Linked DNA regions of Homo sapiens: region 1 is linked to region 2. Evidence: promoter capture Hi-C in 16 types of primary human blood cells and fetal thymus (Javierre and others, 2016). All regions are on one chromosome and are shown on one strand. The core of a region is centred on a gene start or on the middle of the fragment in contact, and the rest is flanking DNA. Distances in the headings are between cores, read along the strand shown.

What was found. The method cuts DNA at HindIII sites, captures the fragments that hold promoters and counts their contacts. A CHiCAGO score of 5 or more calls a contact.
Region 1: a contact is called between a fragment that was not itself captured here and the fragment with the promoter of ATP2A1-AS1 in region 2, in 1 of 17 cell types (non-activated CD4 T cells). The highest score is 5.5, in non-activated CD4 T cells.

What each region holds. Positions count from the first base shown.
Region 1 is chr16:29,875,177-29,878,858 of GRCh38, reverse strand. It overlaps SEZ6L2 (seizure related 6 homolog like 2), which reads left to right. Exons shown (of 18, transcript NM_001243332.2): 10 at 434-572; 11 at 1,392-1,588; 12 at 1,909-2,103. Among named protein-coding and RNA genes, the nearest start is that of CDIPT, 14 kb to the right of the region's middle. RefSeq lists enhancers at 172-671, 672-1,173. The HindIII fragment of the contact is 2,189 bases long and covers 1,156-3,344 here.
Region 2 is chr16:28,877,518-28,881,579 of GRCh38, reverse strand. ATP2A1-AS1 (ATP2A1 antisense RNA 1) reads left to right here and starts at 1,659. Exons shown (of 2, transcript NR_046290.1): 1 at 1,659-2,038; 2 at 2,476-2,623. ATP2A1 (ATPase sarcoplasmic/endoplasmic reticulum Ca2+ transporting 1) reads right to left here and starts at 3,092. Exons shown (of 23, transcript NM_004320.6): 1 at 2,791-3,092; 2 at 2,464-2,481; 3 at 1,997-2,079; 4 at 561-665. The coding sequence starts at 2,908. RefSeq lists silencers at 1,443-1,792, 1,813-1,862 and enhancers at 1,933-2,706, 3,952-4,041, 4,052-4,062. The HindIII fragment of the contact is 3,157 bases long and covers 1-1,796 here.

The DNA.
Region 1 (3,682 bases), core at 1,001-3,500, 1.0 Mb before region 2:
CCAAGGCGGGCAGATCACGAGGTCAGGAGATCGAGACCATTCTGGCTAACACCGTAAAACCCCGTCTCTACTAAAAATACAAAAAAAAAAAAAAAGAAAAAAGAAAAAAAAATAGGGTGTGGTGGCGGCGCCTGTAGTCCCAGCTACTCGGGAGGCTGAGGCAGGAGAATGGCGTGAACCAGGGAGGCAGAGCTTGCAGTGAACCAAGATCGCACCACTGCACTCCAGCCTGGGCGACAGAGAGACTCCGTCTCAAAAAAAATTTAAAAATAAATAAATAAATAAAATAAAAGAATAAAAGAAACAGGTGGATCATAGGTAATAGGAAACAAGCGAGGTGATGTGGTGCACGCATCACGAGTGGTGAGGACTGTGGAGAAATGAAGACAGCATGCCCACCTGGGTCCTGAACCTGACACCCCTTTTTCCCTAGCCATGTGTGGAGGGGAGCTGTCGGAACCAGCTGGCGTGGTCCTCTCTCCCGACTGGCCCCAGAGCTATAGCCCGGGCCAAGACTGCGTGTGGGGCGTGCACGTCCAGGAAGAGAAGCGCATCTTGCTCCAAGTTGAGATGTATGTTTGGGTCCTGCAGAGGGTGCGACGGGTGTAGGCTCAGCAAAGTGTGGTATGCCAATGCAGTAGCCTGCATTCTGAGCCTGTCTGGCTCTTGCGTATCTATCCAGAATTCGGTGGATAGGCTGGTGCACTAAGGGTACAGGATAGACGTGAGAGAGCTGGGCTCAAATCACATATTAGCCAGGCAACCTCGGACAAATAAATAGGGCAATGCAGCCTTCCTTAGGGGCCACTGTGAACAAGGGGCTCTGGCCTGGTGCCTCTCACTCTTTGGAGGTTTCTGAGGCTTCCCCTGGAGCTATTTCCACGGACACAGACCCAAACTGTTGCGTTAACACCAGCAAGTTGGGGAGGTCTGGGGAGAATCCAGTGAGCTGAATTGGTATGAGAGTGTCATGAGATGGCACAGAAGCTGAAGTGGGCGTGGCTTCAAAGCAGGTACTCAGGCGGGGCCTAGAGTTGTGTAGGGCGTTAGCGAATTTGGTCTGTGATTGGCCAGAGCTGGAGTTGGGCTAGGCTGTGGATCTCATGGTGATGGAGGAGGGAGTGGACAGTGGGCGGAGTTAGTAATGTGCAAGCTTAGGGATTGGGTAGTAGGACATGGGAGGAGCCATAGAATAGGGGAACCCTGAGGCACTAGCATAGGAGAAACCATGGTTGGTCAAAACGGAGGCGGCGCCAGACCTGGGATAGGAGAATATGGGCGGGGCTGGAGAGTAGGAGGGGCTACCAATGAGCAGAGTTGAGGATGGGGCAGAGCTGGATGGGAGGGGCCAGTCGCAGCCCCGCCCCATTGCCTGGTCTCACCCCCTGCAGATTGAATGTGCGGGAAGGGGACATGCTGACGCTGTTCGACGGGGACGGTCCCAGCGCCCGAGTCTTGGCCCAGCTGCGGGGACCTCAGCCGCGCCGCCGCCTTCTCTCCTCTGGGCCCGACCTCACACTGCAGTTTCAGGCACCGCCCGGGCCCCCAAATCCAGGCCTGGGCCAGGGCTTCGTATTGCACTTCAAAGGTACTGAGGGATAGAGTCCCGGGATGGGCAGGGGTCGGGCAGGCCAGAGATCCCGGGAGGTGGCCGGTCGTGGTGGCTCACGCCTGTTATCCCGGGGCCTTGGGAGGCCGAGGCGGGAGGATCGTTTGAAGCCAGGAGGTTGAGGCTGCAGTGAGCTATGCTTGTACCACTGTACTCCAGCCTGGGCGACAGGAAACCCTGTCTCTAAGAGAGAGAGAGAGAGACAGATCCCGGGAGGGGGCACAGAGCAAAGCCTCCGAGGCTGGAAGGGAGCCCGCAGTTAAAACGCAGCCTCCAAACTCGCCTTCCCTCCCCTGCAGAGGTCCCGAGGAACGACACGTGCCCCGAGCTGCCACCTCCGGAGTGGGGCTGGAGAACGGCATCCCACGGGGACCTGATCCGGGGCACGGTGCTCACCTACCAGTGCGAGCCTGGCTACGAGCTGCTAGGCTCCGACATTCTCACTTGCCAGTGGGACCTGTCTTGGAGCGCCGCGCCGCCCGCCTGCCAAAAGAGTGAGCCGGCCCCGCCCGCGTCCCCTCGGCCCCGCCCCTTCCCTGTGGGCCCCGTCGTCGGCCTGTCCTGTCCCGACCCCCGTGCTTTCTGGGTTCCATCCCTTCGCTCGGGGTCCTTCCTGGATCTTCTTCAAGGCCTGCCCCCATGCCCTTTAGTTCTCACTCCTCCGCCCGGTTCCCCGAAACTGTCCCCTCTGGGTCTCCCTCTCATCTTCTCCGGGCTGCATCCCTCTTTCTTGCACCGACCTGGGCTCGGTCCCTGTTTCCTCGTCTCACGGCCCCGCCCCGTCCCCTCCTGACCCCTCCTCTGCGGCATCTGAGTTTGGCCCCTAAAAGGGCTCCGACCAGGTTCCCACTGGGCTCCCCGGGTCCACACTTGGCTCCACCTTCCTGTCCTACGCCCCGCCCCAATCCCGCAGTCCTATCAGTTGAAATTGTAGGGAGCCACTTTGCTAGGACCAAGGCTTGTCAGAGCACTTGGTTTATTTGAATGCCATCATTGAAGCCCCGTGCTGGGTTGGGGTTAGGCGAAGGGGGTTCAAGCCCCTCCATACTCTTATGGAGCTCGCAGTCTGGGAGGGATACGCAGGGTGGTGATCACTGGGTGACTTTGGGCGAGGCACTTAGCATTTCTGAGGCTTGGTTTCCCCATCGGCGAAGTAGGACTGAGGTTGTGAAGAGCAGATGGAAAGTTCACAGGGCGCATGCTGCCCTGGGCGTGGCGAAGTGCTGTGGGGAGAGCAGTGGGCTAATTTTCTCAGGGCTGGGGCAGGAGATTTCACAGAGGAGGTGACATTTAAAGGAGCTGGGAGTGTGTATCTTTTAGAAGAGCAGAAAGGGCCAGGTGCGGTGGATCACCTGAGGTCTGGAGTTCGAGACCAGCCTGGCCAACATGGTGAAACCCCGTCTCTACTAAAAATAAAAAACTATCTGGGCATGGTGGCATACGCCTGTAATCCCAGATACTCAGGAGGCTGAGGAAGGAGAATCGCTTGAACCTGGGAGGTGGAGGTTGCAGTAAGCTGAGATTGTGCCATTGCATTCCATCCTGCGCCACGGGAGTGATACTCCATCTCAAAAAAAAAAAAAAGAAAGAAAGAAAGAAAGAAAAAGAAAATTGAAGAGCAGAAAGGAATGGCAGCTGGTTACTTTCTCCAAATTTTAGGAAGCCAGCCCCAAGGACATGGGGCTGTAGTTCCATGTGGCATCTGGAAGCAATGGTGGGACCAAGGGGAGAAGCTTCAGGTAGCCAGATTTGGGCTGGACAAAGCTTCCCGCCCCTGGAAGGATTCACAGGATATCAGGCCTGGATGGGGCTGAGAGTTCGGCTGGCCCCGCTGCCTCGGGCTCAGGAGGGAACCTGCCCAAGGCAGCAGATTGAGCCTGAAGGTGTGCCAGGACCCACATATCTGAGTCCCTGTCCAGTGCTCCATGGCTGTGACCCTGGGCAGATTCCGGCTCTGCCACTCCCTGGCTGAATGACCATGGGCCAAGTCCTTTGACCGCCCTGAGCCCTGGGCTCCAAGGGAGATGACAGTGACATTGGCCTCTCAGGATAATCAGGATTAAATATTATGTT
Region 2 (4,062 bases), core at 410-2,909:
ATCCACCCGCCTCGGCCTCCCAAAGTATGAAAGTGGCTATTTCTATCCTCAGTGTTCAGAAACCAGTGAGCACCAAAAAATGGCTTATAGCCTGACATTTCTTAAAACCAAAGCAAGGTAGCATTTGGGTTTTCACTTTGGAAATGACCTAAAAACAAAACAAAACAAAACAAACCAGGAAGCAGAGGACAGGACATGTAGGGGGTGGTCAGGTCAGTGGAAGAAGGAAATCAAGCTAGCGTCTATTGAATTCCTACTGTGTGCCAGGAACATGCATCATCTTAGTCGATTTCACACTGGATTGCTAGCCCCATTTTATGGATGAAGAAACTGAGGCTCAGAGGGATGAAGGAACTTGCTCAGGGTCACATAGCCAGGAAGTGACAGTGGGTCACAGTCTCCCACCTCTTCCCCACACTCCATCCCATTCCAGACCAGGGGATAGGACCAGAGGAAGAGGCAAGTATGGGGGAGGTGATGGAGGAGGAGGAGACTGGAGGGAGGGTTGGCCTCTTCTTCACTGTTGGGACATGAAGGGGTAAGGAAGGGTCAACGCTAACCTGCCAAACCCCCACGATGGCATTGGCAATGAGGATCAAGAGGATGACAAAGGGTTCAACAAAGGCAGTGATGGTCTCTTCACCTTCCTCAAACCAGGCCAGCACCTGGGGAGCAGGGGAAAGGAGAATGACAGGTAATGAGGCCCCAAAACAGATGGAGAAAGGAAGTGGACCACTGCAAAGGGGAGAACTGTGCAGGAGAGTGCAGGAGCCAGCAGGAGGGCCGGGCACCGTCGGGGCGCTGTGGCCCCACATCCGTCTGAGGGTCTGTCCATCCACTGCAGGTCCTGCCACCGCCTTACTCAGCGGGATGGGCGCGCACAGACTTGCACCACTTGGGGGATTAGCTGGGAATGCTTTCAGGTTTCCCTGACCAAGCTGCTGGCTTAGAAGCGAAGCTCAGGCCAACCCCCCGCACAGCCACATCCATCCCACGGGAGCCAAAACCCGAGAGGAAAAACCCTGTGGTCTTCGCAGGCGGTCTGGCCCCCGCAGCCCTCCCCCTCGGCCAAGGCAGGGAAGCTCCGGTTTCACGAGGGAGCCGGAGCGGGGATAGGGTTACGGGGCCTCCTGCGCGCGCCCCGCCCCAGCTGTTGCCACCGCCAGGCAGCAGGCAAATGTCAAGGAGCAAATCTGAGAAGGGAGAGGAGAGGCCCTGCCAGCTTGTGCTTAACGCGACGGGGCCTGCGTTCGGAGACCAAGGCACAGGGAGGCTTTCGTTGCCTCCAGAGTCCCCAGCGAGGCTCACATGCTGCGGAAGAACCCGCGACATGCAGATGGACCGCGGGATGGGGAGTAGCCCCCAGGGCGGGAGAGGAGGCAGAGCCCTGGAGATGCCCTGCGGGGGTGGGGGTGCCTAGGGAGCGCGGGGAAGGGCTAAGGCCAGGCTGGGCGGGTAATGAGGGATGCCAGTGCCCTCCCTGACCGGGCGCCGGGCTCCTTGGAGTCATCATCACACCGCCGCGCTTTCCCGCCACTAGGAGCGAGTCCTCCCCTCGACCAATCAGCGTCAGGAGGCTGGGGAGGGCGGGGCAGGGGCGCCGACGGGCGCGGGGATTGGTGGAGCGGCCGTCCGCCCGGCGCATGCCGGGAGTGGCAGTGGCCCCCCGCGCCGCAGCCGGCATCGCGGCGGGACCCGGAGCCCGGAGTTCGGGTGGGTAACCCGAGCTCTCCAAGCTCTTGAAGCCGCGAGGGTGGCTTAGCTTCGGTGTTTTGGCTGAGAACACCCTTAAAGCTTAAAATAAAACCTGCCTCTGGGGTGCAGGGGAGGAGAGAGGAGGACGCGAATCACACCCGCTGCTGCGCGCCAGCCCGCCCCGTCTGTACAATGGGATGCTCGGGACTCGGACGGGAGGATCCAGTGACTGCGAGCCCCGCATTCGCCCGATCCCAGCCTCACACCCCCAGCCAGCCCCCAGAGACCCTCCCACACTTACGAAGGAAATGCATGCGGCCAGGAGGAGAATCCGCACCAGGAGGTCTTCAAACTGCTCTATCACCAGCTCCCACAGGGTCTTCCCTGGGGGAGGAGGCAAGGGGAGGGCCCCGGGTTAAGGTCTAGTGGGTGAAGGTCTGGGATGGAGCGCCCTGGACTCCGGCCTGCAGTGGGGAGGCTCTAGGGTGGTGGGCAGACAGCTTGGTGCCCAGAGAAGGGCTAAGAAGCTCGCCTGGAGTCCAGAAACAGACTCGGCAAAGTGGGGGGCAGTTCAAGGGTTGGCTGCTTCAAGGAGAAAGCGCCTGGGAGACTTCTGCCCCGGACAGGACTCTAACCTTTAGGGAGGGAGATTTGCCTTTTGGGAAGGGATATTTGCTCAAAGAATCTAAAGAGGCAGGGAGGAGGGAGTGGGACAGGGCGGGGTGGGGGGTGGTCATTTATGAGAGTTCAGGGATTCCAGTAACTTACCTTCCTCAGCAGGGAGCTCTACCCAGGAAAAAGAAGAAAAGGACAGATTCATTTGGGGTTCAGCCTCATGCCCCCCACACCCAAGACTTTGTGGCTAAGAGAATCAGGCCACCTTGAGGTTCATCAAGTTCATCCCATTAAAACCTCCCAAAACTCTGGATCTCGGGACTCTGTTTTCTCAGTATCTTCTTCCCCCTGCGAGCATTGGACAACGGCCCAGCTCTTCCTTAAGAAACCCTGAAGGGAGAAACGCGTGCATGCGTGTGCGTGTGTTTTGGGGGTGCAGGAGGGCATTAATTACCAGCCGCTCTTCCAAGGGACACTTACCATTGAGGCCGTATTTCTCCAGATTCCGCTTAACTTGGTCCGGGGTGAGGCCCGTGGTCTCACTCACCCCAAAATAGGCCAAACATTCCTCCGTGGTTTTAGCATGAGCGGCCTCCATTGTGCTCCCTTCCTGGGGGCCGGGGCCGGTGTGTTCCTTCCAGGGGGTTCCCACTCGTGGGGGGTCTTCCTCAGTGTGTCCAACTGCCTGTCTGCCTGGGTTTCTTCTTTTTACTCTCCTGCCCCCTCCAGGTTTTTCTTCCCTCCACAAAGCTCTGACCCCCGTCCCACTTGAGCAGCCGGCCACCCCCCGGCCCCCAGCTGGTCCTTATGAGGGAGCAGGGGGAGGCCGGGCTCCCCCCTCCACCAGATCAGGGATTGGCTGGCTGAGACTCCAGCAGGAGGTGGTCAGAAAAGAGAGATATTTCTGCTGACAGAGGGGGAACAGTGGGGCTGCAGCCTGAGATGTCACTCATGAGGGACGCAAAGGTAGCCCCAGCCCCAGGGAAGTGGGGTAGGGAGAGACTTCACTTTCTGTCATCTGCTACTGACCCTGCCCCCCCATTGCCTCGACTTCCCCAGCTGCATTGAATTTCCCATTCCAAACTCATCCCCCCAGTTCTTCCCGGAGCCCTCTTCCATCCCCGGCCTCACCTGTCCCTTTCCTCACACCCCCCTTCCTGCCTCATCTGCCCGGAGCCTGTTTCCATTGCCGCAGTCTCCTTCCTCCTCACCCCATTTGCTGAAGCAGTGGCAGAGATACCCCAAGCCTTTGGGGGACTGATGAAGGGAGAACATCTTTTGGGGGCTAGAGGAAGTGAGTGGCTCCTAGAGGGACAAGGGGAAGTGAGGGGAGAGAGTCAAGGGGACAGGGCCGAAGATGGTAACCCTACCCTAGGGAGGGGTTGCCACAGCCATCAACAAGGGATTTAGTGTCCAGGCCCTGGTGAGCAAAGCCAGCACTGCCTGTCTCTCCCCAAAACTGCCCCCCCCCTTCCCCATCGCTCTAACTCAGCCTCTGGGAACAGAGCCCTGAGGGCCCCCCCATCCTGGATAGGGAATCCCCACCCCACCCCCAAGAAAATGGGACACCAAGGCAGCCAAGTAACCCAAGAGGCTACAGAATGTGCTGATGGCAGAGGGGGAGGGGTAACTGTCTCAGGATGGGGGCAGGGGTCACCCCAAGTCGTGCACTGAGGGTCACCTCATCCCACACTGTGCTCTAACCAACGGGGTTTCTGTGGCCAGCCCCAGAGGCCTGTGGTCTGCGCTGCA